3 separate regions of the Homo sapiens genome follow, and regions 1 and 2 are each linked to region 3. The links are contacts of gene promoters, found by promoter capture Hi-C in blood cells and fetal thymus (Javierre and others, 2016). All regions are on one chromosome and are shown on one strand. Each heading gives the region's core, a stretch centred on a gene start or on the middle of the fragment in contact. The rest is flanking DNA. Distances are from core to core; before and after follow the strand shown.

Region 1 (3,169 bases), core at 563-3,062, 110 kb before region 3:
TCCCAAGACTCCTACCCTGTCCTTGCCTGGCACAACCGCCCAACCCAGCCTGTAACCTTCACATGAAACCCCTGGTCCCACTCATCCTCTATCCCCTTCCCCAAAACCAGTGCCTTTCTGTGATCTCTCTGCTGTCCTTCTGGGTCCCAAGACAATCTGAAAGGGAAAAGGAAGACTTCGAGGGAGTTCCAGGGAAAAAGCTTCTCCAGAATGATCACCACTTCAAGAAAAGCTGAGCATGAGAGAGGGCCAATGCAATCCAGACACTGTGACCAGCTGAATGAGAAACTCAATCAAAATGAGCCACAGCAACACCAAAAGAGCCAGGAGACCTCCACCACCTGAAGCTTCTCCCTGGGCAGCCATTAATTTCAGGGCAAGGCCAGAGACCTCAGATCTATTTGAGAAGTCTCCAGAGATCTGGCCCCAGATAAATAGTCAATGGGGTCTAGAGTACATTTTAGATCCCACAGGGTATGCCCCATGGTGATGAAAATAAAATGAACTTGTTGTAAAATGATGTGTGGGTCTGCTCCTTCTCGGATGGTGGGAAGAGAGGAAGGAGGGAAGACGTGGTGTGTGGGAAGGGAGGAAGGTGGGTGTTGCGGGGTTGGGGTCAGATGGACAAGTCCTCAGTTAACCAGACATGGAGGATGAGGATTAGGTCAGGATTGAGCACTGGAGACAAATTTCCCCTTAACAGGATGACTTGGCTTCTTGTAAGGTTTCCGCCTTTATGGGATCTTGATGGTGCTTAAATCAAGTACCAAGAACTGGATTCTACCTACTTGTGATGGATAATATTAAGTGTCAACTTGATTGGATTGAAGGATGCAAAGTGTGGTTTCTAGATGTGTCTGCGAGGGTGTTGCTAGAGGAGATTAACATTTGAGCCAGTGGACTGTGAGAGGCAGACCAACCCTTAATCTGGGTGGGCACCATCCCCTTGCCTGCCAACACAGCTAGACAAAAGCAGGCAGAAGAAGGTGGAATGAGCAGACTTGCTGCGTCTTCTGGCCTTCATCTTTCCCCATGCTGGATGCTTCCTGCTCTCCAACATTAGACTCCAACTGCTTTGGCTTTTGGACTCTTGGTCTTATGCTAGTGGTTTTCCTGGGGCTCTCGGGCCTTCCACCACAGACTGAAGGCTGCACTGTTGGCTTCCCTACTTTTGAGGTTTTGAGGTTTTGGGACTTGGACTGATCCACTACTGGCTTCCTTGCTCCTCAACTTGCAGACAGCTTATGGTGGGACTTTATGTTGTCATCCTGTGAGTCAATTATCCTTAATAAATTCCCTTTCTCATATATATATATATATATATAAAATATCTATACATTCATATATATACATATATCTATGAAATCTATAGATATATGAAATGTATACACACACACACACACACACACACACATTTATCTTACTAGTTCTGTCCCTCTAGAGAACTCTAATACACTACTTATGTTTCACTGTCACAAAACCTTTTGGTTCATATAAACTGGTGGAAGAATCCTTTGCATCATCCTTCCTTACAGAGTCCCCTCCCTACAATCTAATATAATTAAGAAAAAAATTCAAAGTTGATACAAATCTATTCAAAGTAAAGCCAAAACTATCTACTTAAAAACTGCTTTATTTTTGCAACTGAGAAGACTGGATGTACATTTCCCATTTCCATACATTAGAAACACATAGGTCTTTTCTACTATGCATATATATGTATATATGTGTGTATATATATATGTGTGTGTGTGTGTGTGTGTGTGTGCCTGTGTGTGTTTTGTGTACCATCATTTGTATTGGAAGGTAAGGTGTTATTGTTGAAGCGTGCTTCACAGGCAAACAGAGAAAGGAAACTATCATTTTAAGAAGAATAAAGTACAAAATTTTCACAATTCAGTTTCCAGTTTTCAGTAAGTATTATGACAGAGAAATTCATACCTTTTAGCTTCATAATGAATAACATTTTTTACCTTTATGTGATTATGGAAATGTGAATTTCCATACAATAAGGGTTTGTGATGGAAAGCACTGATTCTATAAGCATTTTCCACTTGTTACATAGATTGTTATTATAGCTTTAAAGGTGTTAAGATTAATGGTGGCTTTGAAGAAATGGGAGCATCATTTGAGAAACTATAAATGAGTTCTGTTGCATCCCTTTCCTAGGTGACGTCAGGGCTCCACTTCATTAGCTAAGGAAGGCATTTCAGGGCTTTGCATGTGTACGTTGTAGCTGCCTCCTATGAAATCCTGAAAAATCTGGGACACTGTACAACAGACACAGGGCATTGTCCCACATCCTGAACTCCAACAATGTATTCTAGTATCTTCTATGTCTTTTGTAGTTCTTATATGGATCTACCATCGAAGAATGAGCATGCTGGATGTAAATCAAAGCCTCTTGATTTGCAAATGCTCCATCAACCCTGAACAATAATATTTGCATTTATGGGTGGGAAGCTGGTCAGAAGGAAAACATCCTGCTGTCTTTTTAGGAAATCACGTTGGACATGGTCGTATAGCTCTTTCCAAAGAGAAATTCGTTTTTTCCATAATAGATTAAAAACCGAAATAAACCATGTCTTGTCAGTGGTCACTTTTTGGATCAGTGTACATCATTGCACTGAGCAATTTTGCACAGTGTGTTTCAAAATTACATTCAAGAACTGATTTGCTTACTGGCACCTTATTTTGATGCCATGACATTTCCATTAAAATCTCTATGTCAAATCAGTCTATGATAACTCTTTTGGCATTCAAAAAAATTATCCATGGCTCTTAAACCATGTTTCTTTCATCATTTTACGGCCGTTGGAGCTTCAACTACTATTTGCTTGGGAACCCATCTTAACTAGCTCTTGCATTCGGGCTTCCTGTTTTATTGTGATGATTGGCAGACCCATTTCAGGCATGTTCAGCTTTGGAAAGGAATTACGATTTTGAACTTATACAAGCAAAAAATGTAACTGAGTTTATTTTCACAAACTGCTTTAATTTGTTAACAACAAGTCACTAAAACCAGAAATCAATCGTTTAAATTACCTTTTAATTTGTTGGAGCTTTCGTAAATGCTATGCTTTCATTTAAGTCTTTATTTATTCTACATGTTATATACATAGTTAAATTAGTTGATCAGAGTTTAAATATTTTCTCTCCTTCTCCAAGG
Region 2 (2,905 bases), core at 98-2,597, 120 kb before region 3:
GCCAGAAGTGGCAGCCTCAGTCTCAGACAGGGGTGCGGTGTCCTAGGGTGCTGGGTCCTCTGAGGCCTCCCTCATCTCGCAGTAGGGCCCTCCCTCTGCTCCCCTGAGGCCCTGTTCAAGCCCCTTCCCTCCATCAGCCCTGGATGGGGACGTCAAGATCCGAGTGCCTGGCCGCCATTCCCGTGGCTTCCGTGGGTTGACAGCAGGGATTCTGACAAGATGAGGTTGGGGGTAGGGGGTAGGTATGGGAATGTGAGTGGGGTGGCGGTGGAGATGAGGAGACAGGTGTGGGTGGGGAACCCTCAGTTCCCTCCCAGGGTCCTGACCCTAATGCCGGGCGGATGCCTGGACCTTGATGCCTGGGCCCTGCCCTCTCCTGACCAACCCTGCCCCGGTCACATAAGCTATGACTACAGATTGCCCTGTGGGTTAAGTGGCAGTGGGACGGGACGGGGGGTGGTCCAGCTGAGACATCTGTCCTGGCCGGGTGGTCCAGGGCTGGCAGCAGGGGTGGTACTGGATCATTTTGGGGCCATCTACCTGGGGTGTGTGCCTCCTCAGTCCTCCCTCAGCATCTCACCTTGCCTCCTCACAGAGCCTAAAACCACTCCCCTCAGTGGATCTCAAGCCGCCCCTCAGAACCATTAAATGAACCTGGCTTCTCTCAGATCTGTGAGGTTCAAGTCAGTGGTTTCACATCGGGCCATCCAGGGCTTCCCTGGGTTGAGAGCAGGGGCAAACCGGATTCTGCCAGAATGGGGGAGGCGATGGGAGTGGGGCACATGAGAGAGATGAGGGTGGGGTTGGGGGCAGTGAGGGTGAGGTGGCAGAAGGGTTGGGGCTGGTGCTGGGGCTGGAGGGTGGTGGTCAGGTGACGGAGTAGGAGTAGGGATGGGGGTGGAGGTGTAGCTGAGGAGATGGGGGTTGGGTGGGGAATGGGAATGCGAATGGGGTGGGAGTGGGGATTGGAGTGCAGTCTTGGGGGCCCACAGCCCTCCCTCTTGGGTGCTGATCTTGATGCCTGGCAGAGCCTGTGCCCTGCCCTCTCCTAACCAGTCCTGCCCTGGTCACAGCAACCTCTGATTCCAGAGCTTGGGGAGAAGAACCTGGTGTCTCTCAAGGCTTTTGGAGCAGGGGTCTGGGGGCAGCCCAGGCTGAGACGTCTTCCCGCGGGTGGGCCAGGGCTGGCAGCAAGGGCGGCGCTGGAATATTTGGGGCTCTCTATTTGGAGTGGCGGGGTCCTCAGTCCTCCCTCAGCCTCTCACCTTGCCTCCTCACAGAGCCTGGGTCAGGTTCCTTCGGCCGAACTCTACGCCGTCCCTCAGAATGGAAACCTCGCTTCTCTCTGCCCCACAATGCGCAAGTCAGTGGCGTCACATCCGGGCACCCGGATGTTTCCTGGCGGGAACCGGATCCTGCCTGGGTGGGGGTGGGAGTGGGCGTGGGGGTGGGGGTGGGGGTGAGGGTGGAATGGCTGGGCGGATGGGCATCAGGGTTGAGGGATGGGGTGGGGGATGTGGGGTGGGGGTTGGAATGACAATGAAGAGGGGGTTGGGTCACGGGAGTGAGCATTGGAGTGGGGGTTGGGTCACGGGAGTGGGGTCTTAGGGACCCTCAGCCCTCCTTGAGAATCCTGAGCATGATGTCTGGCAGAGCCTGGACGCTGCCCTCTCCTAAGCAGCCCTTCCCTGATCACACGAGCTCTGACTTCAGAGTCCCCAGTGGTTTAAGCAGCAAGGGGGCTGGGGGTGGCCCAGCCTGAGAAGTCCACCACCAGATGGTCCAGGACTGGCATGAAGGGATTATTTGGGGTCCTCTATCTGGGGTAAGTGGGTCCTCAGTCCTCCCTCAGCATGTCACCTTGCCTCCTTACAGAGCCTGGGCCCGCTTCCCTCCACCGATCTCAAGCCGCCCCTCAGACCGAAAACCTCGCTTCTCTCTAACCACTAATGCTCAAGTCAGTGGCGTCACATCTGGGCACCTGGGCTTCCCTGGGTTGAGAGCAGGGGTGGAACCGGATTCTGCCTGGCTTGGGCTGGGGGTGAGCGTGAAGATGTTTGGATGGGTGGCGTAAAGGGAGGGATTGGGGGTGGTAGGGGGAGGGATGCCAGTGGTGCCCCGGGGCTTAAGTCGTCGTGTTGGTGGTAGTGGGGTTGGGCGTGGGGTTGGGGGACCCTCGGTCACCCCTCAGGGTCCTGACTTTCATGCCTGGCAGAATCTGGACACCCATATTCTCTGCCGATTGTGTCTGCTTCTCTCCCACCAAGTCTCTGGCCCCCAGTCCCATGAGGTGGCAATGGGAGGGGGGGTGTGGTCGTGGTAACATTGCCAGGGTCTTCCAGGGCTGACAGGAGGGGCTGAGCTGCATTCTGTGGCCCATCTACGTCGGGAGAGTGGACCCTCTGTCCCCACTCAGGAAGGTCCTCCTCCCGGCTCCTGGCACTTTGTTGAAGTCATGGGCGGGAGATGCTGTTTCTGCCATCTCTGAGCATTTGCCCAGCTGCACCCATTGCAGAGAATGGCTGCAGGTCCCAGGCCAGGTGCTCCCTGCAGAGTGGCAGCTCCCGCGATTGTAGTGACCTCTGGGAGAAGACGCACACCTTCCCACGGGGGCTTCTCTCCAGCCAGAGCTACACTTGGCAAACCTTTTGTCCTCAAAGTAATATGTTTTACTCCCAGGCACGGTGGTTCACGCCTGTAATCCCAACAGTTTGAGAGGCCGAGGCGGGCAGATCACTTGAGGTCAGGGGTTCAAGACCAGCCTGGCCAACATGGTGAAACCCCGTCTCTACACAAAATACAAAAATTAGCTGGGTGTGGTAGTGCTCAGGAGGCTGAGGCGTGAGAATCGCTTGCACCTGGAGGCGGAGTTTGCAGTGAGGCGAGATCGTGCCATTGAACTCTA
Region 3 (3,052 bases), core at 1-2,500:
CCCGGAGCCCACTGACCACCTGGAGAGCAGGGCCCCGTAAGCATTCCATCAGCCTCCGCCTCTTTTCCCCCTCGGGCACCTGCCACATCTGTAGCATCTCAGTGGTGTGCTCAAGCCAGGCATCAAAGGCCAGTGCACCTGGGATGGATATGGTGTTCCCAGAAAACACTCTTAGTTCTCGGTACAACATTTGTTCTAGCAGAGGCTGCACTGCTGCCCCCAGAGTCTGGGCCCAGGTCCAGAACTCTGGTGATATAGTCACTCTTGGAGCCGAACAATTGGTGTCCGACCCGAGGACTCGGTTCATATCTGACACGGTCCGCCTCTCCTCCTCTAAGAAGCGGTTCAGTCTGTTGAGAAATTCCCCATCTGAGTTACGGGGTTTTACAATCACTTCCCAGGGCCCCCCCTTTCCTGGTATTTCCCTTGGGAGCAAAGCATAGTCGATATCTTGTGCCAGCTCCAGTAGAATCGCCTGGGCGTTCTCCTCCCTCCTAAACATCCTGCCAATCACCCTGTATCTGCCCAGGTGCCTGCAAGCCTCCTGGAGTGTCTCCTCAAACTCATCCTCGCCACAGTCCTCGGGGATCCCCAGGATGAGCATGCACCTCCGGGTGTTCAGGTGTTCCCCCCGACACCAGTCCTGTAACAAGGTCAACGGCATGTCCTCGAATCTCTGCGGATACTAATTTGGGGGGAGTGATCAGGGCGTGAGGCACATATCTGGATCAACTCCTAGGGTGATCGCAGAAGGCCCAGGTCTCCACAGCCTGTGAATGCGAGCAGGGCGAGAGCGAGGTTAATGCCCACCTCTCCGCACGCCCACATCCACGCCCACCCCCACCCCCACCCCCAGCCGCCCTCCTCCCCGGGCGGCGCCTCTGCAGCCAGGCCCCGCCCCTGCCCAGCCCCCCACCCCCACCCCCCGTGGGGTCTCTGCGGGCCTCAGCCCCCTCCCCGCGCTGCCCCAGGACCCTGGACCCCTGCCCTGCAGGCTGCTTCAGTTCTGATAGGGCGGACAGGCGAGGGGCGGCGGAGTCTCCCGGGGCCCAGCGTCTCCCTCCCCAGGTGGGTCTGTTACCTTCTCCCAGGGCAAGGTCCCTTCTGGTCGGGGTCCCCAGAGGGCTCTCCGGGGGCTATGCGCGGCGGCGGCGGCGGCGGCGGACGGGGGTCGGGCACCCCTGGCTCCCAGCGCGGACGTTCGCTCAGACTGTGGCTCTCCCTCGCTCGCGCAGCACGTGGGCCAGTGCGCCGGCGCCTGCTCGCCGCGGCTCTCTGCAGTGCGGACACGGGGCGGGGGCGCGGCGGCGGTGCAGCGCGGACCCCTCCGCGTCGTCCGGGAGACCGCAGGGCCATTGGCGCGGACGGGTCACGAGGTCGGGCTCTCGCCGCCGCCCCTGGGGGCCCCAGGTCCCCGGGTGACGTCACCTGCTCCTCTCCCCTAGCCCCCCCGCCACGGGGGCCCCCGGGCCCCCGGGCACACAAGCGCCCGCCCACCCCCATCCCCACTGCGGTGGCCAAAGGTCTGTGGCGGCCAGTCCCCGTGCCTTTGGCTCTCACCACAGCGGTTCCTGGTCCCGGCTCCTGCCCCTCCCGCACGTGCCACGGAGGTGCCAGCGGGGCGAGGGGTCTGCACCCCGGCGTGCCCACCAGAGGGCCAGGGAGTGGTCTGAGGTGCGCCAGGCAGCTCTGCATTATGGCCAGGGTCAGGGAGCCGGGTTCTGGGGCCTGTTCACCTGCTCTTGTCCTCCCCCTCCCCGTCCAGGACTGGTCCTCTGGCTGGCGAGGCCAGGGGCACCTGGTGCGGGTGCCATTCCGTGCAGGAGATGCCCCAGGCACTCATGCAGGTCACGCACACCACCCCAAGGAGGGTCAGCCATCTCCCCGCTGTCCATCCCGCTGCTGGGACCTGAGGCCCTCCGGCCAAAGCGCTTCGCTGCCCAGGTGCCAGTGGACAGGTTTACCGGGACCTTTCCGGTTTTGTGCGCTGCAAATCTAGTGACTTGGGAAACCACTTCCAGGACTTGGAGCCCAATCCCTTGGGCCTGCCCTTCCTTGGCAGCCGTGCGCCGTGGGTTCTATTGTATCCGTTTGATCCCAGGGCAGCAGCCAAATGAAGAAGGGAGTGACTGTCCCTCAGGCAGTGGGCCCAGGTGTTCTGTGGGTCCTGCCTGCTCTGCCAGCCGCATGCTCAACTCCTATTCACACAGCTTCAGCTCCTCTCCAAACACAACGAAAAGGGGCTTGTGGTTGATTTTCAGGCCAGGTTCACCCATCCAGCCAAGTCTGGGAGGCCACCTTGCAGTGAGTGGGGCACAAAACTGTCCACTGACTTCCTGCCCCACCCTGAGTTCTGCTCGTCAGCCTGGCACTTGTCAGGGACCAAGAAGAAATGGCCCCAAGGGCTTTTTCCTGGTCAGACAGAATTCCTGAAACATCTTTACAGGAGTTATTTCATTTGCTCCTCACCAGAACTCTGAAGCAGGTATTAACATTATCCTGATTTGACTCATGAGGCTCAGAGAGATTAAGAGACATTTTCAAGGTCACACACCGTATTGAAGGTAGAATTGAGACTGGATTCTAAATTAGTGCCCATCAGTCTTTGGGTAGAATTGGGACTATTTCTCCCCTGGTTGCTTCATGCCTATTAGAATTTATTTCTCTCATTTTTGTCCATTCACAGTCCCTTGCTTTGTCACTCCAAGGGCTCAACCAGCTTCAAACTGAACCTTCATCTGCCCAACTTGCAGGGGTGGAAACAGAGGTTCAGAGAAGGGACACTACTGGCCCAAGGTCACACAGTGAGTAAATGACAAAGCTTGAGATGTCAAGGGGAGATGCCAAGTATTCATGCCAAGGCAGAGGGGCGTGTCTGGAATGTCTCCGGAAAGAAGCCTGTGAAGTTCCCAGACAGACGCAGTGATCTGTGGATGTTCTGGGCATTGGGAAAAAAGGATTTGGAAACACTGGTATCAAGACAATAGATGTGAATATGTCCAATTTGAAAAGTTTTAGAACTCCTTTATATTGGAGTTAACCTTTGCCCTTG

Evidence for each region. The method cuts DNA at HindIII sites, captures the fragments that hold promoters and counts their contacts. A CHiCAGO score of 5 or more calls a contact.
Region 1: a fragment that was not itself captured here is called in contact with the fragment with the promoter of PNMA3 in region 3 in 8 of 17 cell types (M2 macrophages, non-activated CD4 T cells, naive B cells and 5 more); the score reaches 9.6 in M2 macrophages.
Region 2: the fragment with the promoter of MAGEA1 here is called in contact with the fragment with the promoter of PNMA3 in region 3 in 16 of 17 cell types (M1 macrophages, M0 macrophages, non-activated CD4 T cells and 13 more); the score reaches 16.2 in M1 macrophages.

Annotation. Positions count from the first base shown.
Region 1 is chrX:153,161,513-153,164,681 of GRCh38, reverse strand. No RefSeq gene overlaps it. Among named protein-coding and RNA genes, the nearest start is that of MAGEA1, 16 kb to the left of the region's middle. The HindIII fragment of the contact is 2,933 bases long and covers 346-3,169 here.
Region 2 is chrX:153,177,726-153,180,630 of GRCh38, reverse strand. MAGEA1 (MAGE family member A1) reads right to left here and starts at 1,347. Exons shown (of 3, transcript NM_004988.5): 1 at 1,266-1,347. The HindIII fragment of the contact is 9,739 bases long and covers 1-2,905 here.
Region 3 is chrX:153,054,668-153,057,719 of GRCh38, reverse strand. It overlaps PNMA3 (PNMA family member 3), which reads right to left and starts at 1,250. Exons shown (of 2, transcript NM_013364.6): 1 at 1,082-1,250; 2 at 1-770. The coding sequence starts at 664. The HindIII fragment of the contact is 3,087 bases long and covers 1-2,823 here.